7 separate regions of the Homo sapiens genome follow, and all the other regions are linked to region 3. The links are contacts of gene promoters, found by promoter capture Hi-C in blood cells and fetal thymus (Javierre and others, 2016). All regions are on one chromosome and are shown on one strand. The core of a region is centred on a gene start or on the middle of the fragment in contact, and the rest is flanking DNA. Distances in the headings are between cores, read along the strand shown. Region 1 has its middle 360 kb from the start of LINC02027. Region 2 has its middle 340 kb from the start of GBE1. Region 3 holds the start of GBE1 (1,4-alpha-glucan branching enzyme 1). Region 4 overlaps GBE1 (1,4-alpha-glucan branching enzyme 1). Region 5 overlaps LINC02008 (long intergenic non-protein coding RNA 2008). Region 6 has its middle 280 kb from the start of GBE1. Region 7 overlaps LINC02008 (long intergenic non-protein coding RNA 2008).

Evidence for each region. The method cuts DNA at HindIII sites, captures the fragments that hold promoters and counts their contacts. A CHiCAGO score of 5 or more calls a contact.
Region 1: a contact is called between a fragment that was not itself captured here and the fragment with the promoter of GBE1 in region 3, in 1 of 17 cell types (endothelial precursors). The highest score is 5.0, in endothelial precursors.
Region 2: a fragment that was not itself captured here is called in contact with the fragment with the promoter of GBE1 in region 3 in 1 of 17 cell types (endothelial precursors); the score reaches 7.8 in endothelial precursors.
Region 4: a contact is called between a fragment that was not itself captured here and the fragment with the promoter of GBE1 in region 3, in 3 of 17 cell types (monocytes, M1 macrophages and M2 macrophages). The highest score is 6.4, in monocytes.
Region 5: a fragment that was not itself captured here is called in contact with the fragment with the promoter of GBE1 in region 3 in 1 of 17 cell types (naive B cells); the score reaches 5.7 in naive B cells.
Region 6: a fragment that was not itself captured here is called in contact with the fragment with the promoter of GBE1 in region 3 in 1 of 17 cell types (M0 macrophages); the score reaches 5.5 in M0 macrophages.
Region 7: a fragment that was not itself captured here is called in contact with the fragment with the promoter of GBE1 in region 3 in 3 of 17 cell types (monocytes, M0 macrophages and neutrophils); the score reaches 10.6 in monocytes.

The regions. Positions count from the first base shown.
Region 1 is chr3:81,347,688-81,351,118 of GRCh38, reverse strand. No RefSeq gene overlaps it. Among named protein-coding and RNA genes, the nearest start is that of LINC02027, 360 kb to the right of the region's middle. The HindIII fragment of the contact is 1,543 bases long and covers 664-2,206 here.
Region 2 is chr3:81,418,208-81,421,339 of GRCh38, reverse strand. No RefSeq gene overlaps it. Among named protein-coding and RNA genes, the nearest start is that of GBE1, 340 kb to the left of the region's middle. The HindIII fragment of the contact is 1,338 bases long and covers 611-1,948 here.
Region 3 is chr3:81,759,878-81,763,088 of GRCh38, reverse strand. GBE1 (1,4-alpha-glucan branching enzyme 1) reads left to right here and starts at 1,444. Exons shown (of 16, transcript NM_000158.4): 1 at 1,444-1,714. The coding sequence starts at 1,572. RefSeq lists silencers at 1,216-1,315, 1,816-1,895 and enhancers at 971-1,579, 1,366-1,655, 1,996-2,165. The HindIII fragment of the contact is 5,689 bases long and covers 743-3,211 here.
Region 4 is chr3:81,495,233-81,498,539 of GRCh38, reverse strand. All of the region lies in intron 15 of GBE1 (1,4-alpha-glucan branching enzyme 1), which reads left to right. Among named protein-coding and RNA genes, the nearest start is that of GBE1, 260 kb to the left of the region's middle. The HindIII fragment of the contact is 958 bases long and covers 1,127-2,084 here.
Region 5 is chr3:82,204,743-82,208,189 of GRCh38, reverse strand. All of the region lies in intron 3 of LINC02008 (long intergenic non-protein coding RNA 2008), which reads right to left. Among named protein-coding and RNA genes, the nearest start is that of LINC02008, 220 kb to the right of the region's middle. The HindIII fragment of the contact is 4,818 bases long and covers 1-3,447 here.
Region 6 is chr3:81,478,072-81,481,220 of GRCh38, reverse strand. No RefSeq gene overlaps it. Among named protein-coding and RNA genes, the nearest start is that of GBE1, 280 kb to the left of the region's middle. The HindIII fragment of the contact is 856 bases long and covers 1,330-2,185 here.
Region 7 is chr3:82,112,771-82,116,235 of GRCh38, reverse strand. The region is part of intron 1 of LINC02008 (long intergenic non-protein coding RNA 2008); the gene reads right to left. Among named protein-coding and RNA genes, the nearest start is that of LINC02008, 130 kb to the right of the region's middle. The HindIII fragment of the contact is 3,167 bases long and covers 1-3,085 here.

The DNA of each region.
Region 1 (3,431 bases), core at 186-2,685, 410 kb after region 3:
AAGAACCAAAGTTCAGTTTGCAAGTGAGGGTGGCCTCAAATGGAAAAAGTTTAACTTTCTTTTTTTTTAGGAGAATGTCTACGGAAAAAGACTGGGTCCAATGGAAAGGATTTATGCCAGTGCTCACAAACATGATACAAGCAAATACAGGAGGTGGAGGTAAAAAAAAAAAAAAAAAAAAAAAAAAGCCTTAAAGAAGTATGTGTGTGTGGGCAGGGAAGAGAGGTCGTGATAAGGCAAGAAGAGGCTGTTAGCTTGTAGGAGTGATGGAGAAGATGTTCACAAACGACAGTCTGAGTTTGTGAGCATGGAAAGAACTATACCCCAAGTAAAAAAAAAAAAAGATATACAATTTAGGTATAATTAATGGAAGAGAGGGTTAACCATAGTAACCTTCATTCATATGACTATGTAAATACTGATTTGTTCCCTAACTCACCAACCATAATGTTTCCATTTTTTCTCCTCTAAGCCCTTTAATGCTTATATTTAGTTGTAGTACAGCTGGAAATATATATTTTTCTTCATACAAGCTTGCTGGCATAGATTTTATTTCACTTTCACCTGGCTTAAGCATCAGTTTTGATGACATTCAAGTGAGTGACCATTTCTTCCTGCCAATTTATGAACTAGAATGAATGGTTTGTAAGAAACATAAAAGCTTTTCTTCCAAAAAAACCAACACTAATAACTATATTTCACCTTCTTTATATTTACCTCTGGGATACCTTTTAACTTTTTTTCATACCAGTTTAGAAAAAGAACATAATTGTAAAATGAAAACCAAGCTCATTTGATACTGTTGTTGGAGAGCGAATAAAACCTAAGTATTGGGAAATGAAAAACTTGGGATTTGATTAAGAAGTGCAGAGCTTTAAGTGACACTCCAATGCCTTGGGCTGGAGTTTCAAGAAGTTGGCAAGGGAATTGAATCCCCCAGTGCTCAGGCTTATGACGGCAAGAATAAAGCTATTTTTATTCTCTAGGCAACAGCTTTCCTCTGCCAAATTTCCCAAGACTCATACAATGAAAGCATCCATCCCAAAATGATTAATGCAAATTTAGTAATTGTGCACATGGATCATTTCTCTGTCACCCATTTTATCCATAAAACGTGGCTTTCTCTCCATGCATGCATTGCTCATGTTTTGTGCCATTCACCTGTTGCTGGGGGCATGGAACAAATTACCTCTTTGTGTGAGGCTGCAGGAAGAAGAAATTATCACATTTGTGGCTGGCACCCCCTACTAAACCAAGCGTGTAATTATTTGAATCAGAATGATGGTATGCACAAAGTCAGATTTATCTTGGGTATCAGAAGAAGAGCATATGAGGTCTGACCCACAGCTGGACAGTTTCCGAAAGGGAGGATGGGTGGGAGGAAATAGGCTTCTGTTAAAGAAGATAAATTTTTGGCAGAAAAGACAAATTTCATTAGAAGCCAATGAGACCTCAGGGGTTCTGGCTTTTGTAGAATTTTAAGTGAAGTGAGTTCAAGTGCAAGGTTTTGAGCTGAGAGCCCTGGGGAGGTTAATCACAAAAAGAAGTGTTGTGTTGCCAACCTCACAGTGTGGACTGCCCCAAAGCACCTCACACAAGAACCTCAGACTTAATCAACCAAGAAGGCTCAGAGGAGTAAGCTAGAAGGACCAAGGACCCTCAGGCTTGTGATATCCCTTTCAAGTTTCCAGGAAACACTGATGCCTGCTTAATAGGGCCTTTCTGGAAACGAGTAGCTCCTTTTCAGAGGGCACCAATCACCTTTAAGTTGTGTTTGGTCAGAGCTTTAAATTGACAGTGTAAGACAGAGTAGCCACAGTAAGGCATGGGCCACCGCCACAGAAGCCATTTGCTGGTTTAACATCCCACTGCTTTCTAGCACTCCCATTTACTGAAAGGCTAGATGCTCACTCAGTTCCTAATCTGAAAGGCTATATGCTTACTCTACACTCTACTGGTGGAGCAAAGTGTCTATGGAATTTTTCTTCTGCCACCATAGACTGTCAAGCAGATTTCCTGAAACAAACATGCGCTTTTAAGCACCAATTAATGATAGTGGATTAAAAAAATGCATTTTTTTCATATAGAGAATGCAAAGAAACCTATACATAGAGCGCATGGCTGCTTATACATGTCATCAAAAGATGTTAGGCACAGAGTCAGGTGACCTGATGTATCCCCTTCTCAAATGTCTTGCATCTAAGCTTTTTGAAAATCAATTGTATGGACATTCCACTTTTAAGGAAGCTTAACTATCTGTCTCTTCTTGTGTTAGGATACACTGGGAAAAGAATAACAACAAGAACAGCAATAGTACACAACATACAAAAACAGACGGTTCCAGTTGACAGCCTTGTAGGGAAAATTTGTGAATGGCATAGAAATGGACAAAACCCAAAAAGTATTGAGTGTCCTGCGTAACACACCTTTCCTGGTGATCTGGTTCTATTTGGCCTTGTACCTTTCATCTTCTTTGAACTATTTAGTAACACAAATAATTCTTGTCTATGCAAATTATTAAATTTTGTCCAGTAGAACGCAAGTGATTATTGCCATGTGGATATTCATCAGATTTACATTCATTTGCAAATTTATTTCAGCATTCTTGATTGTCTGTATACATGTAAACACTTTGAATTCTATGAACCAATAGTAACATCTTACTGGTACTCTCACTAATGAATTAAATAAAATATTTGCCACATATTCATTTTATAACTTTATACAAGTTATCATACCAACTTTTAAAAAATATCTTTTATTAGCGTCAATACAGAAGTATTTTTGGTTTTGTTTTTGTAGTTTTTCAAAATAATATCTGTGCTGAGTCTCTTGCAAATTCATTTTCAGTTGAAGGCATGACTTTTGAGATTATAATTAAAACCATTGGTTAGCAAAGATACAGGATTAGATTTTTTTCCTTTTAATCCTTCACAATATAAGGAGTAACTCAGGTAGGAAACTTCATGATTGCTTCTAAAGAAGCCTTCTATTTGTATTCTTTGATGCAACATCACTGTAATGAATGTTATCACAGTTAGAACAAAAGAAAAATAAATGAATATTGGGGACTATTGAATTAGCTCTTTAAATGACATCTGCTTCATTATAGCTTACATATTCTCTAATAGGTATTTTTGACTAAGAGTAAAGGAAAGATCTGAGTTCAGCTAATATATCATAGAGCATATTTTTGAAGTTTACATCGTACCAAATTATTCACTTGAATGAGATTTATGCTAAGGGCCTCAACTGATAAATCATGAGTGTTTAGGAATCTGGTTTCCTGAAAAGTTTTTTCTCCTTCCTTCTTGGTAGTTTTTTTCCCCCCATCAGTCAAATATAGTACATCTTAATAAACCAGAATAAATCCTCCCAGGACAAGATTATAAGCCTTTTTTCCAAAATTTCATATTAATAAGTTGTTTTTC
Region 2 (3,132 bases), core at 30-2,529, 340 kb after region 3:
TTGTGAGCATCTAAGAAGCATTTGCAAAGTAACACTCAAGGTTTTGCATTGAAAAAGAGGAAGTCTAATGTCTGAAAAGAATGTGACTCTGAGTTATAAGGAGTTTTGAAAGAGCATCCAGCTTATGAATTAGAAAGCCGAACTCAAGCCACTTTCCTTTTATATTTCATTGTAGTTTAACCTGCACTATTTGATCAATCTTTGTATATTTCTTAGATGAAAAATGCACATATTTTCCAAAAGAACTGATTTATATTTATAATTGTAAATTAAAGAAAATCTCATCTCTCTTTATTTGGGTTCTCCTTACATTTCTATGGCACAACGTTGTTGTTTTTGCATGGAAGTCTCTTAAGTTAAAGGTGCTATTTTATTTATTGCCCATTAATAATTAAAGTGCTTGGATTTTATAAGAAGGTATATATCTCACATCTGTCATATTTTTAAAAGATGTGTTCACTGTCAGTATTTGTATAACTAAGAATTAGAAACCTAGCAACTTAATTTAGCTCTAAAATGATTTTCCTTCAAAACACAACTAAAAAAGAACAAAGAGCATTAGTTAAGATTCTATTGGTTTTAAGTGTTCAAAATAGAACTTGTCCAAGCTTAAGTAAATTGGTAACTTAATAAGTGGCTGCTAGGCTCTCTCACAGTTGGGAAGGTAAGAAGGCTCAGCCTCAGAAATAACTGAAATCAGGAGCCAAATTCCCAAGAAACTCCATCCACCTGCTTTAATATTTCTCTTTGTCTTTCATTCACTTTCCTCAACTTCTCCAACCCCCACAGGAGGAAAATATGGTTGCCACTAACTCATAAAATGTATATATATTACAGCTTCAGTCGCTGGAGAGAGGCCTCAGCCACTGGAGACATACTTGTTCTCCTTTTTCACAGTTTTATAAATCTTTAGAAAAGACTCTTATTGGTCCATATTGGGTCAGCGACCCAGCCTGGTCACAAAGGCTGGAATTTGAAAAGAACATTGTCCAGCTTTTGTCAAATGCTTATGCCAATTGGGTCAGATACCCAGTTGTAGTCCGTAGCCAGTATTATATCACGATAAAATATTGTCCCCATAGTTATCATGTATATGGGGGAGGAATCATCTTTCAGAATAGAGGGTTCTGCAATATTAGGTATGCTAGGAGTTTCTCACAGCAGTGTTAACTTTAGGAGATCGTTCAAGTCCTCATTACAACTTTAACATATGTACCCAGCTATGACTGGATTTTATTCTTCAACATCATTGCTAATAATGTTACACACAAAGTGAGCTTGTCCATTTTGATGCCACTTGCACTTATTTTAATTATCATCTCCTACTAATTTTATTTCAGTTCATCCATGATAACCCTTGAATATAATTAGCATTGAAAATAAATATAACTAACTTTGATTAAAGGAATAGCAGTGATTATAGAATTAAACAGATATGTGTGATGTATTATAAAAACATGTATTCTTTGGAAATTGGCCATGTAAGATATTTGTTTTGTAAAGGACATGTTTGAGGTGGAGAAGATTCTAATGACAGACTCACGCACCTATCTTCTACTTTATATTTCTCAAAGGACTCTTATTATTATCCTTCGAGATCTGCAAAATTCCTATAACAAAAGCTGTAACTAATCTTTATCATTATAAAGGAATAGTTCGTTTTAGAAGCTAGCTGAAATCATTAATTAGGCAAAACTTTTCCAGAACATCCAGCATACCAAAGAGACACTGCTAGAAGTCACTGGAACACCATCTTTTTACAATTAGGTAATCACAAAGAAAAAGATTAAATTTTAGAAAAAAATGTAATTCACTTTTTAATGCTTTGTTCCTTAAAAGCACATATATATCTGAGTAGCTTATTAAACTGAAAATCATTTCAATAGGTGGATTACACAGAATTGCTAAGAAACTGAATTTAGGCCAGTCATAAAAATTTACTAAAGCTTGCCATCTAGAGGTCTATAGGGGTATACTTTGGAAAGTACTTTTAGAAACATTTTCTATAACCTAATGTCCTGATATGTATAAGTTTAATGTATTAAATGAAGATTAAGATAAAAAGAGAACATTTCACTTATTACTGAATCTACACTTGACATTGCAAATTTTGGACCTTTAATCTTAAAAGAACGCAAGGTTGCTTCTACTTTTTTCTTACATAATCATTCTGGTAGCTCTAAGAAATCTTTTAGGCAATCCAGTTTACATTTTTTTCTTACTATTTGAGAAAAAGAACAATACATTAGAAGTTGATAATGTGTATAGTGTGCATATGATGATAAATATTTTCTTCACTATCAAGACTGATTGTTTTAGGGTTCTTGGTGAGTATTGCTGTTTGATGGATGAAAAAATAAAGTTATTCATATTAAATAATTATAACAGTATGGAAGGAAAAATTCCCTGATAATAAAAGTGAAGGGCATCAATCTAAAGCTGAGATTTAAGGGCTTGTATTACATCCTTAGATAGATATGTAATATACATGCATGTGTATGTTTATGTAAACAATGTGATCTTGTGATGTTTTTGGTACTTTAAGAAGTAGTTGTAATGCGTAGATCATTGCTATAATAGATTACACAGTGGAAGCATTTATCAAGACTGCAATTGTGTTATTATGAATGTTTTACAGTTGTCAGCTCATCAAGGCTAAAATAGCCTTGTTTAATGTGCTTTAAAATGTAGGTTATGGGGCCACAATAGAATTTACTTCAAATGAAAACTTCCCAATCAACTGAGTTGAAGGTTTTGAACTTTTAATTCTCACTACATCACAGGGTGATTGTTTTGGCAGCAAGACAGACAAGATGTGCGGTTGCTGCCATTATTCATGCTTTGTCAAGAGGAGGTGGTGAGCATTCCATGTGATCTGGGCAAACATGTTATGTCTTAACAGGAGTGGAAAACACTGAAAAAGTGCTTTTTAATTTTTAAAAACTACATCTATGCCATACCAGTATTAGATTATTTCACTTCTTCCATTTTAAGAGACCCTCTTTTAAGATGTACCTTTGAATTAAAATCAATGTTTGGGGGAGGATATCACCTGATTAAATGTACACATTTACATGTGATTTCAGGATGTTAAGATGTGTTCTGGTGTCAGAATCCCTAAATGGGAGGAAA
Region 3 (3,211 bases), core at 195-2,694:
GATGAGAAGACGGATTCTAGGTCACGTTTTGCAGACAGTTTGTTTAGGTCTCCTAGCCAGCTAAATGGAAATCTCAGTAGACAGGCAGTGATACAAGCCTGGGTTTCTGAAAAAAGTTTAGGCTTGGAGATGTAGATCTGTGGGTCTGTTATTAATAGTTGTCCTGCTTCGGGTTTTTATTTTTTTTTAATTTTCTTCCTTTTTTAGTGCTTTATATTTTACAAATGTCTGCAGCAGTTTTTTGTCATCTTTATGGAAAACAAGGCACGTCTTAAAGTCGTTCAAGTCCTTCACTTTTTCACACTGAGGTCTGTCTTCATATCCACTTATCTTTCAAGTCTATGAAACCCCTTATAAAAACTTTCCTTTGAAATATTTTAAAATTCAAGGCCCACGGCTGATTAATACTGTTTCTCCTCCATAACCCCTAGGATCCTCCAGTTCTGGGTTTTAACAAGAAAAATATCCTCAATCCTCTCTAGTTTCTAGGTGTAAAGCAGCTTGGACCCTCCTGGGTTTGGTGGGTCCATCTCTCTTGGAGTCCAACTCTGTATTCCTAAAAAGCAATTATTGAAATAGAAGCTAGTCAGTTAATGGCAATAAAAGAAGGGAATTCCAAGTGGGAGCTTCCCAAGCCAAGAGGAAGAGAGGTTTCTTGCCTTATCACTGTAAGTGGCAGAGTGGAGTTCCAATTCAATGATATCATTTGTGTTATCAAAGGTAGTTTAATCGTTGAAAAGCTTGTTAACAATTATAAACACAGGCAAATGCCTTTTCCTTTTTGGCCTTACGGAGAATGAGAAAAGTTCTTCCCATGGCTAAAATTCTTAGCTGTTGGTAATGCAGAAAAGAGTACCAGAACAGCAGAATTCCAACGGTATTCCAGGATTCTGTGTCTTGGTTAATTTTAAATTCACGTGACCTGGCAAACTTAGGAGAGTCCTGGTTGTAAGAGGTATTAACATTTTCAGCAGTAGTACTCTAGCTACACTTGACTGTTCCCCTCTCTGTGAATTTACATGATATGTTTGAAATACTGCCCCTCAAAAGTCTCAGAACTTTGAGAAATACGGTCCTTTCCAAAAAAACCCCTTATGTCCAATTTGAAGGGGTCGCTGTCAGTGGGTGCTTAAGTGGGTAAAGAAAAGCCAAGAATATGTCAGGGTGAGGAAGGCCAAGGCTGAGCGAGGTCAGCTTGGGACCCACCTCCTAGAATGACCTCCGCCAGCAGGAAAAAACCGTTAAGGGGAGGAAAGGGCAGGTCCCTGCGGCCTCCAGGTGCCAGCCGCGTGAGTGGGCGGAGAGGCCTCGGTGCCTCCTACCCGCTCCGGACGTGCGTCCCGGCATCACCCCGGGATCCGCTCCTCCCCGCTGGCGGGGGGAGAAAGGGCAGGAGGCCTTCCGTCCCGGCTATAAAGGGCCCCGGACCGCCGCGGCTCGCCTCGGCTTGCCTCGACACGCCTAGGCGCCCTCCGGCTCCGCCCTAGCCGCCGCGTCCCAGCTAGAGCTCCAGCGCCCGCTCAGGCCCCACTCGACCTCTCGGGCCTCGGCTACTTGGACTGCGGCGGAATATGGCGGCTCCGATGACTCCCGCGGCTCGGCCCGAGGACTACGAGGCGGCGCTCAATGCCGCCCTGGCTGACGTGCCCGAACTGGCCAGACTCCTGGAGATCGACCCGTACTTGAAGCCCTACGCCGTGGACTTCCAGCGCAGGTACCGCCGGAATCCCACCACCCCCACTTAGACAGGCAGCCCGCCTCCCAGGAGCCGTCTCGGGACACGGGCCGCCCCTCGGCCCTCGCGCGCCAACCCCGCCCCAGGCGGGGAGGAACCTGAGTGGGCGGGGCTCGGGGTGACTCGGGTAACCGGGTTCTGTGGCTTCCGTAGTGGCAGGTTTGACAGCGCTGGTGCCCGGAGCGGGCGCTGAAGAAACTTCTTTCCTCATCCCCTTTCCCCTCTGTTCTAATCAGCGGTCTTGCGCCATAGGGTACGTGCTGTGGCTCCAACACTTATTCCCCAGAGTGCTGCTGGGGAGTGACTCACCGCCGCTGCAGGTTTTCTGACTTTGGCACCCACTAGCGTGGGCCTGTGGAGTAACGTGGGCATAACTCCTGGCACGTGTAATTACGCATTTAAAACTTTCTAGTTTATTTCATAGCAAATGTTGTGATTTTATATCTAAGAGGATTCCTTCAGGCAGACACTATATCCTTTTGTTTTTTCCTTGCTAATATTCCTCATTTAGGGGAAGATTACACCTACATTGATCAATTTTTTCTCCCCTTGGATCAACATTGAGAAGTTAAATGTACATCAACATTTGTCCGTGTGTGACTTTAACCATCTTGAAGAGGGAGAAAGGTCAGGAAAGCAACTTTTACAGGCCAATGTCGTTTTAGCTTGTCTTCTACCATTGTGTACCATACAACTTTAGTTACTGGGCTAATAATTCTATTCATAAGTTCCACTAAAAAGGTACAGGTCTTTTTCTGTTGTCGTTGTTGTTTGAAGTAAAAGAGCTATTATACAAGTTGTAATAGTTATACTTGTGAGGTTACCCCATTTTGATTTAATAGTTTCTCCCCTTTTAGGAGAGACACTGCAGAATGGAAACTATCCTGGCAACAGAATATACATGGCCAATTTTTCGAGTGATGGAAAACATCCAACTAGTTAACTGGCATGAAGGAGCGTTGAGAGTAATGAAAATGGGTTGATTTGGAGTTTGAAAAAAGCCCAGCAAATTGTTTGTGTCCTAGCATTTTCAGGTATTAAATGCATTCAAATCAGCAAGTGTTTATTGAGGAACTCCTATAAATAAAACACTGCTCTAGGGATTGTAAGGGATGTGAAGTTTCATTCTTGAGCTTGTATATAGTAGTGAATGAGGCCTCTGTAAAATAATCACCTTGAGCTGTCCCTCACTTAATCAGATGATTATGCTCTTATATAAACCATATGAGGAGCAGCCTTGTGAAATTGTTTTCAGAATTTACAGTATATGCTTTCAGAGAAACTTAGTGCATAATCGTCATAGGTTTAAGGTTGGATTTGATTTAGAAATAGTCAGAAAAAATTTAGAACAAAAGATAGTGATTAAAGGTAGTGGTTAGATTTTTTTTTTGATGTCCTTGTAACCATGACATTAATTTACCTGTGTGCTTTGTAAAAGGACACTTAAGATATTTATTAAAGAAGAGTTGTGGAAAT
Region 4 (3,307 bases), core at 356-2,855, 260 kb after region 3:
CAAATAGAATGTTAGAATGTTGCTTTAAACTACTATGTTTAAATTCTTTAAAATATGTAGAATTTAGTAAGTTTCTAGATTCAGAGGAATTCATTATTTAATTTATGGCCATATAGTAGGTTCAAAACCACATCTACCATTCCTAATTCTAGGACGTACCTAACAAATACATGACTTTACCATAGCTGTTAAAGTTCTTATTTCATTAAATTCTCTCACTTTTCAAAGGTTTAGATAGGAGTCAGGCATGAGGATCTCTGTGGTACCCCTAGGTCTTCCATCTTTCTACTGTTTTCCCACTTCTCAGAGTGATGCCAGCACTCCACTTTGTAAGCTGCCATATTATATATAAAAGTGATATGCCAAAGATCATAGCATAAAATCATTGAAAAGAGCAGGGATTACAAAGAGTGAGTTGCTGGATTATGGGTTGTGAGGAAAGTGCAGTGGAAAGTCCTATGAGAATTAGGTGTTGCCCTAAATGTATGTGTGTGCATATGGGTGTATGTTGATGATGACACTGATACAGCTTTAGATATATTTGGAGAAAGATATATATTTTTAAGAGAGAGGGCTCAAGGGTGCTATCACATTCTTAAAGGAATTATTACTGTAGTCTGTGAGAACATTCAATTTTGACACGTAAAATAAGTTTGATAAAAATAGTTTTGGAAGTGAATACGAATATTACCATAAAGTTCTGAAATAATCAAAAGAGTTAGATGCCCTTAGGGGTTAGGAAAGATGATTCAGCTCACAAAGGGGAGTCATTGGGAAGGAGCAACTGATTGCAAGCAAACTGAACTTTCACTGATGGAACTAGACTGAAAGGACTTGGAAAGACTCAGACAGCAAAATTCTTACATAGCCAGCTTTTCTAAATGTCCGTGTACCCCAACAGGGTTCTGTTATGAAGAACCTGAAGGTATAGTGAAAAGATCACAAAACGCCATGGCACAGGACCTGGAATCCTGACCCTTGTCTGCCATTTACTCACTGAGAAATTGATTAATTTAACTTTTTTTGCACTGCAGTTTCCCCCACCTGTAAAATGAAGATGATTCATATTATCTTCCCTACAGCAAGAGATTCTTAGGAAGCAGAAACTCTTTAACATGCCCAAGCTTTTTGGAAACTGTAAAATGCTATTGCACATGTATTTTAAAGTTGTACTTGTCATGGAGAGGCAATTATTGTTCAGTCGTTTAAACATGTCAATATACTAAGTGTTTCCAGGACACACAATTAAGAATACCTTCTCCCAGCTTTGGGGAGATGATCTTCTTAGGCGACGGCTCAGACTCTTTTGAGGTGGGCAGAAAATATCTTGGCATCCTTTCAATTTTGTGAGAGTAAAGATCTGCTGGCATAATTAAAACAAGCCAACCAACAAGTGGCAGCAACATCAGGAGATTACTTTTCAATCACTAATCGAATTGATCTCACCAGTGTGGAAAATGCAGTTGTAAATTATCAGGTAGAATAAAGAATGTCTCATAAGTATCAGTAATACATAGAGGAGGACAGCACTGCAAGGACATGGGAAACAGAAAAGAGCTGAATGCTGCCTGCAACAGAATTGTAATCCAACACAGCCGTGAGATAAGGGCTAGCTCTCTCTTCCCAGCAGCAACATCTTGTTTTGGATGACTACAGTGCTTCAGGAATTACTCGTTTAAATACACCTTTAGGCTCCAGATGATAAGATCACTCGTTTTAATGTGAGATTAAGGGAGCCCACACAGACGAGTAAAATACAGAAAATCTAGACAAACGGGTTTTCTTTTTACCTAAGTTATTCAGCAAAGAGCCAGAGGAAGAAAAATCACATTAACAAATGTACCTATTCTAATAATGCTTCATTATAAGAGAACTCCTTATTAAACTGAGTCATATGTGCTGGGATCCAGTGGAGTTGCTTGAACATGATCATAAGTGCTGTAGGTCTTATACCACTTCCAGTGAGATCACTCATACCTCCCATACTTGCAGACTAAAAGGAGGAAGGAAGAACAAAACGCAACTTTTCCTTCTTCCATGAAATTTTTGCCCATCATAACTAGTACACAGCATTTGCTAAAGCTTAATTTGCAAGCTTAATAATCCAAAGGATCTGCTGAATAAGTGTCAAATCTGTTTTCAAAGATAGCAACAAACAGCCCGAAGGAATCTTAAAATAGCCATACATGCTGCAGCATCAGCAGGTACCGTTCTAGCGTTGTCTCTGTGTGCTCCCTCAGTTGAAACTGTGAAGCTGGGGATAACTGCATGTATACCGCCATTGAAATGTATTTGCTAAGGTCAGAGTATGTCACAAATGTCCAAAAGCGATAGGGCAGAGCTCTGCCAGTCTGCTTTACTGGCAGTTATTGGAAACTCCATTTTAGCATAATCATTTCTCTATATTTTGATTCCTGATACCGGAACTTAATATGTTAACCTATATGTTAATCAGTGCACTGGAGGCAGGGGACTTCCTTTCTCTCCTCTGATTCATAAAACCAAATTCCATAGCACAAATGAGAGATAAGAGATTATTGAGCCTTAAATGAATTAGATTTCTTTACGGTAACTGAATGATGATGCTGAAAATGAGAATAAAGCAGTAGGTTTAGCACTAATTACTTTGGCAATTAGGTTTCTTATCAATAAGAAGTAGATGTATTTACTCTCATTCTAAATTTGGAGGTTCAAAAGTAGACTTGATTTAAATACAGGATTTGGCATAGATGTATCACTTTTATTGCCCCTCAGTTGTAAGTTTTAATACAGCTTAACAATTGGAAAATATCTTCTGCTCTATTCAAAATTATGAAAATAGTTTTTTAGAAGAAAGAAAATCTTGATTTTTAGTTTACTTTTTTAATGTATACAAGTTAGATGAGCTAATATACATTTCTGTACAGAAATACTAGAGTCACTTTTCTCCTAACCCCAATGCAAAATAATGAGAATTAGAATACAAGAATAAAATTTATTTTTTCTTAGAAAAGTATTTTATGAACTAAAGCATGTATGTGAAAACTAAAATTAATTTATATCATCTTTATATTTTTCAAAAAACTGTGATTTTTATTATAAAAAAGTGTTTATGTAGACTATGAAAGAATCTGATGACTTTTTCATTGAATGATGTTTGTTTGTTTTTTGTGAGACGGAGTCTCACTCTGTTGCCCAGGCTGGAGTGCAGTGGCGTGATCTTGACTCACTGCAACCTCTGCCTCCCAGGTTCAAGCAGTTTTCCTGCCTCAGCCTCCCGAATAGCTGGGATTACAGCCGCACACCACCACGCCCAGCTAATTTTTGT
Region 5 (3,447 bases), core at 829-3,328, 440 kb before region 3:
TGGTAGTGATTAAGTCTCATAAGATCTGATGGTTTTATAAGTGGGAGTTCCCCTGCACAAGCTCTCTTGCCTGTAGCCGTGTAAGACGTGATTTTGCTCCTCATTCACCTTTTGCCATGATTATGAGGCCTCCCCATCCATGTGGAACTGTAAGTCAGTTAAACCCAATTCCCCTATAAATCACTGTCTCCGTTATGTCTTTATTAGCAGCATGAGAACAGACTAATAAACAACTATTATGAATATTAATATAAATACATAACTCCTCTTATAATAATTGTAGCTCTAGAAAGTATTAAGATTCCTAAATGCAGTCTTATATGTCTGGGGTACCAGAAGTTATGAAATGGAATTGGAAACCTTGGCATTTAAAAAAATTAAGACAAGTTTTGATTTAGATACTGCTGAAGCACAGAATCTCTTTTATTTCTCTTTCTCCAATAAAAGTGCTAATGCAAGCAAAAGAAGCTATTAGCATCATTAAGGAGTAATATAGTACGATTGCCATGAGAAATCTAAAACAAAACTAACAAACTGATATGATTTGGATCTGTGTCCCCAATCCAAATCTCATGTAGACTGTAATCCCCAGTGTTGGAGATGGGGCCTGGTGGGAGGTGATTGGCTTATGGGGATGGATTTCCCCATTGGTGCTGTTCTCCTGATAATGAGTGAGTTCTCATGAGATTAGGTCATTTAAAAGTGTGTGGCACCTCCTGACCCTCTTTCCTCCTGCTCTAGCCATATGAAGTGCTGGCTCTCTCTTCACCTTCCACCATGATTATAGGTTTCCTAAGGCTTCCTCAAAAGCCAAGCAGATGCCACCATCATGCTTCATGTATAGCCTGTGGATCCATGAGCCAATTAAACCCCTTTTCGTTACAAATTACCTAGTCTCAGATATTTGTTTACAGCAGTGCAAGAGTGGGCTAATCCACAGACAAGTGTCTTTCATCCAGTAAGTCACTTTCGGTGAGTTATAGAACACCTGATCACTGTGAAAGAATTCTAAATTCTATCCTTATAAATATTCCACATCTTCTAGTGTGTAGTATTAATTTTTCTGAGTCCTGTAACAAAATCTATTTTGGCAAGACCTTCTCAGGATAATGCAATGCAATATCATATGGATCATTCAGCCTGAATAATAATTTCTCAACTGATATCTGCCGCAGCCAGCCTTTCACATAACAATGCATCTTGTCCAGCCTCATGCTCCACTGGCTTTCAAATGTCTTGCACTACTGGCTCTCTGAATTTAGCTGTTGTATCTCTAGAGTTCAGGAAATTCACAGAGGACATGACTTTTTGCATAAGATTACTTCTTCTTTAAACTGACTCAAGTAAAACTGTGCTCCCGAGGTTCTCATCAAGCAAGTATGTTTTGCTGCCATTAGCACACTGATGTTTAAACTTCATAGGAGTAAAAACAAGAGTAATAGCTAAGTTTGTTTAGATCTTACTTTGTGTCAGTCACTGACTTAAATATCGACCTTCCTCATCTCACTATTTTGAACATACTTTACATAAGTGAACAGAAGTTAAAGAGGGGAAGTAATTTGGAACAGTTCATGGGTTACTAAGCTGTGATCCTGGATCAGAGGAATCCCGTTCTTACTTCACATTTTTTTTCTCAGCACCAGACTTGCCACCCCTCATGTTTTGTCCATTTGTCCAACATCTAATGAAAATATTTTCTCAACATACTAAATAAGAAAAACATTAATTTAAAAAATTAGTGATTTATAATCTTAAAGGAGGCAGATTATGAAATTGAAGAAAAAACTAGATTGAGACTTTAGAAGTATGGGAGATAGCTAGAATTTAGCCATTGACCTGCTAAGTGAATTACCTCACCTATTTATATAACTTTTCACAACTGTAAAGTAAAAAATTGTATTAAATGATAAAAACTTATGAATGTCCAAATGTCCAGCATCCTTACCAATACATAAATGATATTGAAGGTCTATGTTTGATATTATATGGAACATGGTAATGTATTAGCTGTAAACATTTACTCACCTTGCTGTCACTTTAGATCATGTGCTTTCCCTTGAGGCAACTCATTTAAACTTCACAGCAGCAGCAGGGAAAACAATATAATAGTCATTTTGTGATTGTGAACATTACATAATCTGCCCAGTGTCAGACAACTAGCTCAGAGTATAGATATGAATTTAACATTAATGTCCCAAAAGATAAGATGTTTTCAATGTGGTATAGACACATGAGAAATATTGAACTTTATAATGCACAAATATGGAGACTTGTTGTCATGTCAATTTACAACTGGCTGTTGTACAAATCTGAATGAGATTTGGAAGTGGAAGTGAAAGCAATCTCCATGTTTACATTTAAGGGTTAGTGTAAGAACTGTTTCTCAACATTTTTTTAAATCATTGCCTTCCATATAAGTCTTTCAAATATTTTCCCCTAATTTCCTCTCCCTCCTTTTGAAATTAAATACTAAGTAACAAGATTTTGTCAAGTAGAGTTACGCCACTGAAGACCAAGAATCATGTTCATAGGAATTTTTCCCCACCCCCCACAAAACCAATTTTTGTCCCCTTGGAGGTGACATATCACCCCGACTGTTATAGGTCAACTGATACCACCATTGATATAGGGTCATATTAGCACTGCCGCTGATACTGGCTTAACCTGTTGCCTGAGGCACCAGTTGTGCCTGCAATTCTAGCTTCTGCAACATTTCCTCTATCACCTTCTACAAATCCTGGACCAGGTATGTATACAGCTCCACTGATGAAGGCACTGGCACGATCTGCCTGTTACCCATATCATCAAAGTTGCAAGAGGTGAGACAGAGGCATACAGGCTCCAGTTCAATCTTTTGGATTTCTGTCCATTCTCCCAAATTACAGCTTGTCATTGTGATACGGACAGGAGGCAAGGAAATACTGAGTAGATGAGGGTGGTTCCCCAGCAAAGGCCCCACCTTCAAACCTGGAAACCCACAGGCCTAAATGGAAAGAGGCATTCCTGTTTTCACTCCCAAATTTTGCCTTTTCCAACACCACTCTGGCCCACCACTCCCAGTCTTGTAGCCATAAAAATCCGAAACCCTAAGCTCCATGAACGGAAGAGCGGCAGAGAGGCAGAGCAGCAGAGTGACAGAGCAGCACAGCAGAGAAGGAGAAGGAGCATTTGAACGTCCAGAGGAGTTTGGCTAGGGTTGGAGAGGAAATCAGCTGTGGAACAGCCCAATTCTGGGGAAAGATCATCTTCCCACTCCATCTCCTTTCCAGTTCCTCATCCATCCCACTGATAGCCACCTCCATCACTCAATAAAATCCCCACATTCACTATCCTTCAAATCCATGTGACCTGATCCTTCCTGGATGCTGGACAAAGGACCTCGGTACCAAGAGGGAAAGGTGTAAAAGGTTGTCACCTTGACTCTCCACTGAACTGGTTAAACACTTA
Region 6 (3,149 bases), core at 508-3,007, 280 kb after region 3:
AGCGGGCTGGGTCTTCCTGTGTCCAAGAGGGAGAACAGTGCAATGAAAACAGCATGCCATCTGCCGTAATTGCCAACAAAGTCTGGGAAATCCTATATACTTTATTCCCCCTTACAGAATCATGATGCAAATTAAATATTAAAGGCCCTGAAAATTCCTAAAATAAGGAAATTGATCCAGCATTGTTTAATTCAGTATTTCCCAAACTCATTTAACAGTGTTCAACTCAGTTCTCATTCACAGGGAACATCAATAACATCTTAGGGGAAAAAGCTCTATTTGCCTAAACACAGTATACAGTAACACAAAGATAAATTTATCTCTCCTTTTTTTTAATGTGTCTATGACCAATAACTCCCTCCTTCTAACTCCCTTTTGTGTGTGTGTTGTGCATTTGCCATCCATTTTCCTCCATGGTCACCTGGTCTAGGAGTCAACATTTCTATTAAAATGATGATCTCGTGATTAACTGTCAATGGACGATCTTATTTCTTTAGATCCAGAAATCTCTTGATAGGTTTTTTAAAATTGATAAATAATAGTTGTACACATTTACAGAGTGGGTGTGATTTTTGTTACATGCATAGAATGTGTAATGGTCAAGTCATGGAATTTAGGATATCTATCACCTTGAGCACTTATCATGTCTATATGTTGGGAATATTTCAAGTCCTGTCTTCTGGCTATTTTGAAATACACAATGCACTGTTGTTAACTAGAGTCGCCCTACTCTGCTATAGAACATTAGAGTTTATTCCTTCTATCTAACTGTATGTATGTACCCATTAGCCATTCTCTCTGCCCCACCCCCAGACATTCGTCCCAGACTCTGGTACCTGTCATTCTACTCTCTATCTCCATGGGATCATGAGAGGTGTTTAATTGGATCCCCAAGTACTGACCTCAGAGTTCTCTTGAATGAATGTTTCTGGGTTATGAGAAATCTGAAAACCAGATTAACGACCAACTTCTAGAAACAGAGTAGGATGTTAGGATAAACATTTCATTTAATTGCTGGATTGATCTGCTTTTTTTTCAGCCTAATGTTTTCTTGCTGATTACTGTTGCCTATATTTTAAAATTCATTTTTATATCACTTATTGTAGTATATGTATATTTGTGAACTATTTGCATTATTTTTGGAGAAAGGCAGTAAATAGATGATGGATACACAGATCATAGATAAGTACATAAATATATAGATAGATAGATGAATAGATGTTTTAAATATGGCTTCTGGTGTGATGGCATAGTCCACAGTGATCTGTTTCAATATTTTGTGACTGGTTGCTGAGGAACCACTTAAAGCTAGTGAGAAGTGCAGAAGCTTCCCTTGATATTTTATTAGTATAAAACCTGGATTTTCTAAATTCATGGAGATTTCTGCTTAATGTTGTAAAAACAGGATGTTATTTCTCACTCTAATGTGTAAAACATTGGAAAGTCTATACAAAAAATAATAAATGTTCTGGGTGTGGCAAAATAATAAATGCTTATATGCACTTAATCAAACTTCCATTCCTTTATATATCTAAATCATTAAAAAATGTATATCATTTACATAGATACATGTGAAAAGTTAAGAGAAGCTCTTAATATGGGACAAAATAAAAAATAATATTGGATACAGGAATATATATTATACCCTGCCTTTATTGACAGGCAGTCATAAAAATGAAGTTAATAATGTTCAGCTTTCATTTTGTTCTTTTGAAGGATCATTCTCAAAAATTATTTTTGTCTCTCCTGGCCAGTTATTCCTAGTACTTCTCATAGAACTAGTACGAGCATAAAGTGGGTCTATTCTTGACATTCTGACTAGCTAGCCAAATGTCAGTTTAAAATAGACAATGTTGTTATTGATTCATTATTATTCGTTCATATATTGAGATACTGTGCCAGGTTCTTGGAAAGTAAAGATAAATAAGATAGAATTTCACAGCTTAGTAAATTGACTGTAGTCACAAAGGAGCAAATAGATTTGTTACTGTGTCAGAGTCTAAGAGTCACCTATCTAATGTCCATTCTTCTGTCTTCCACAGTAATAGAACCATTATTCAGGTGCCAAATTACAAGTTTCACCCATGTGTCTAAATTCCAGACAAAAGAGGAAGTTGGGTGGGACTTCTGGGATTCCTGCTTAAAAGGAAAAACAGAAAACTCAAACATTTACTATTAACAAGCTTCTCCTTCAGCTGCTTGGAATGTGTATAAAATGCTGGAGATCTGCGTCTATCTTAGCTATGAGACAACTTTACATGCTTGATGGCAGATGGGAAAGAAGGATGCAGATTTCCAATAATTTCCAATCATACAATTCTGAGCTGCCTTTACTCACTTTATTCACGTAAAAAAAAAAGCCCTTATATATTTACTAATATATTTAGGATTTTCTGTTACTTGCAGTCAATACAATCCTAAATGGTTCACTTATCAATGAAACTAAATGATCTCAATTGATAAATCAATCAAGAAGTTGGCCTTGGATACATAAGATTCAAGTAGGTATATGAGCAGGGCTCTAGACATACAGAAAGGAAGCACATTAGTATATTAGAACTAGGAAATTACATTGAATGCTCTCTAAACATACATTAATTCCTTCAACATGAACTTGTAGTCCAAAATGATGGAAGCACAATATCTGTGAAGAAAATGATTTAAAAATAAAGGTGTAGTAAGTTAGAACCAGTTTATAAATAGCCTTCAATGTCTAAGCTAAGAAGACTGAATTTAATTTCTTATGGATTATAGAGTCATTAAAAATTGTTTACAAAGTGAGAGAAAAATATTTAGAGCTGAAGAAACCTTAAAATCCTCTAATGTAGTGATTTTCAAAATATGCAATGAGACATCTTCATTAACACCTACATGGTGGGCAGGGAGGGGGCTGGAGCAGAGTTTGGGGCTGCTTACTGGGCATGGCTTCGTGGCGCTGAGAGCCCTCATTCATAGGAACTCTATTTTAATCTGTTTATAATCCCACATAGTAATGCTTTTAACAAAATATCCCAAAGTGAATAGTATTTCAAATCTACCAATCTATGCCAATGTTAAAATTTTATTTATTGGAAAATTTTGACTCAGAGAAGTCTTTGCCCATTATCCCACTATGAGTTAGGACTTGACCACAAGTCTACAGAACACTA
Region 7 (3,465 bases), core at 253-2,752, 350 kb before region 3:
TAAAGTCTGAACTAGAATTATTGTGTGAAATTTAGAACTGTTATTTGTAAGGGATCAAAAAAATTAAAAGAAGTTAGATTGGGGTTTATTCAAAAAAATAGAATTTATTTTATCATATAACTAAAAATCAAGAAGCTGCTTAATTCTGTAGGCTCAAAAGATATCACTTCAATCCAATTTATCTTCCTATTTCTATACTACTCAATGTCCGCTTTATTCTTAACCTCCATATAATTACAAGATGTCAGCAATAGGTCCAGGCATACATTATACCAGATTTATGACCTATAAAATGTTGAATAAGATGTCTCAATCTTTTCTCAAGAAACTGACAAGCCTATTCCAAAATTCACACAGAAAGAAAAAGAACTTGGCAAAATAAAAATTGTTTAAGTAAAAGGAAAGCTGAATAACTTATACTGCTATAATCAAGCTAGTTTAATAGATCTAGAGATCAGCGGTATAGAATAAAATCAATAAATAGACTGTTACTTATATGGTCAAGTTGCCAAAAGAATTCAATGGAGGAAAGAACAGTCTTTCAACAAATGGAGATGGAACACCCAAATGTCTATGTGGGAAAAAAACAAGCCTCATATGTTATCTCATACTATATGCATAAATCACTTCAAAATATACTCTGTATCCTAATGAAAAAGCTAAAACAATAAAATGTTTGGAAAAACAAGAAAAAAAATTTGTAACATTGAAGTAGGCAATAATTTTTTAAATAGAACACAAAGAGCGTAAGCTATATAAAGAAAAGATTGTAATTATACTTTATCAAAATTAAAAGCCTTTGCTCTTTGAAAAACACAGTTAAGAAAACAAACTACGGACTATGGGAAACTGTTTGCAAAGCATACCTAGAAAGGGACATGTATCCAGGATATATAAAGAACTCCTGGGGATGGGGCCAAGATGGCCAACTAGAAACAGCGGATATCAGAGGCTGTCATCGAAAAGAACCGTTAATTAGCATGTGAATCCTTCATTGGCAACCATGGTATCATCCAGATTCTCTCATCAGAACTGACTAGGTGACTGATGTGATCCACAGAGAGCAAGAAAGAGCAGTGTGGTGCACCACCCACCTGAGAGCCACATAGAGAAGGGGAGCCCCCGACCCCTAGCCAAGGGAGGCAGTGAGTGAGTGTGCTATCCAGCTGGGGAAACCGTGCTTTTTCTACAGAACCATGCAACCCACAGATGGCAAAATCCCACTGGCAAACCCATGCCACTGGGGCCTAGGTTCCCAACCCCAGAGCTGTGCAGATTCTCAACAGCCTGTCAGCTGAAATCTGCATAAGCCTGCGAGCTCCCCAGGAGGAGAGGCGACCAGCACCACAACTGTGGCTGCCTGCTGCCTAAGCCTTTTGAGCTCCTTGGAGGAGGGGCATCAGCCAGTACTGGGACTCATAACTGCCTAACACACTAAGCTCCCGGGGCGAGGGAAGGGCAGCATCCATCTCTATAGCTCCAAGCCACGTTTTTCCCCTGCTAGAGCCAGGGAAGCTGGATGGCTTGGTCCCCAAGAGATGTCCCCCAGAGTCCAACATACCAGTTGCGGCAGACTGCAGCCAGAGGGCCTCTTCAGGGCTGACCCTGACACATCCTTCCTCACTGGGAGGGGCTTCCCTGCAAGAACTCCAACAACTCCACCCAGAGGCTCAGGGACGGAACCCGGATCTCCCTGGGCCTGAGCCCCTGGGTGGGAGGTGGCCACAGTCTCTGCAGACCAGCAGACTTAGCCTTTCTTCCTGGTAGTTCTGAAGAATCCAAGCAGCCCAGATGAGTGGGTTTCCCCAGCGAAGCACACCCCCTCCACCAAGGGACAGTAAAAGTGCTTCATTAAATGGGTCCTGTTCCCTGTGCCACTCAACTTGGTGAGACCCTCCAACAGGGGTTGTCAGACACCCTATACAGGAGCGATCCTACTGGCATCAGGTGTGTGCCCATCAAGGTTAGAGATCCCAGAAGAATGAGCAGGCAACCATCTTTGCTGTTCTCCAGCCTTGCTGAGTGACATCTCCAGGTGCGGGAGCAAACCAGATGAATAGTGCCTAAAGTGAACCCCCAGCAAACTGCAGCAGCCCTACAGAAGAGGGACCTGACCATGGAAAGAAAAACAAACACAAAGCAACGACGACAGCATCAACAACAAAAAAGTCCCTACAAAAACCCCATCCAAGGGTCAGCAGCCTCAAAGATTGAAACTAGACAAACTCATGAAGATGAGAAATAATCAACAAAAAAATGCTGAAAATCCAAAAGGCCAGAGTGCCTTTTCTCCTCCAAATGATCACAATATGTCTCTAGCAAGGGCACAGAACTGGACGGAGGATGAGATGGATGAATTGACAGAAGTAGGCTTCAGAAGATGGGTAATTAAAAACTCCACTGAGCTAAAGGAGCATGTTCTAATCCAATGCAAAGAAGCTAAGAACCTTGATAAAAGGTTAGAGGAGCTGCTAACTAGAATAACCAGTTTAGAGAGGACCATAAATGAACTGATGGAGCTGAAAAACACAGTACAAGAACTTCATGTATCAATAGACAAATCAACCAAGTGGAAGAAAGGATATCAGAGTTTGAAGACCACCTTGCTGAAATAAGGCATGCAGATAAGATTAGAAAAAATAATAATAATAATAAAAAGGAACAAACAAAGCCTCCAAGAAATATGGGACTTTATACAAAGACTGAACCTATGACTGATTGGAGTACCTGAAAGAGAGAGGGAGCTGGAAAACACACTTCAGGATATTATGCCGGAGAAGTTCCCCAACCTAGCAAGACAGGCCAACATGCAAATTCAGGAAAGAAGGAGAACACCACTAAGATACTCCACAAGAAAATCAATTCCAAGACACATATCATCAGATTCTCCAAGGTCAAAAGGAAAGAAAAATGTTCAGGGCAACCATAGAGAAAGGTCAGATCACCAACAAAGGGAAGCCCATCAGACTAACAGTGGACCTCTCAGCAGAAACTCTACAAGCCAGAAAAGACTGGGGGCCAATATTCAACATTCTTAAAGAAAAGAATTTTCAACCCAGAATTTTATATCCAGCCAAACTAAGCTTCATAAGTGAAGGAGAAATAAAATCCTTTTCGGACAAGCAAATGCTGAGGGATTTCATTACCAACAGGCCTGCCTTGCAAGAGCTCCTGAAAGAAGCACTAAATATGGAAAAGAAAAACTGGTACCAGCCACTGCAAAAAACACACCAAAGTATAAAGGCCAATGACACTATGAAGAAACTGTAGCAACTAGTGTGCAAAATAATCAGATAGCATCATGATTACAGGTTCAAATTCACATATAACAATACTAACCTTAAATGTAAATGGACTAAATGCTCCAATTAAAAGACACAGACTGGCTAATTGGATAGTCAAGAGCCATCGGTGGGCTGTATTTGGGAGACCCATCTCATGTGTAAACACACACCTAAGCTCAAA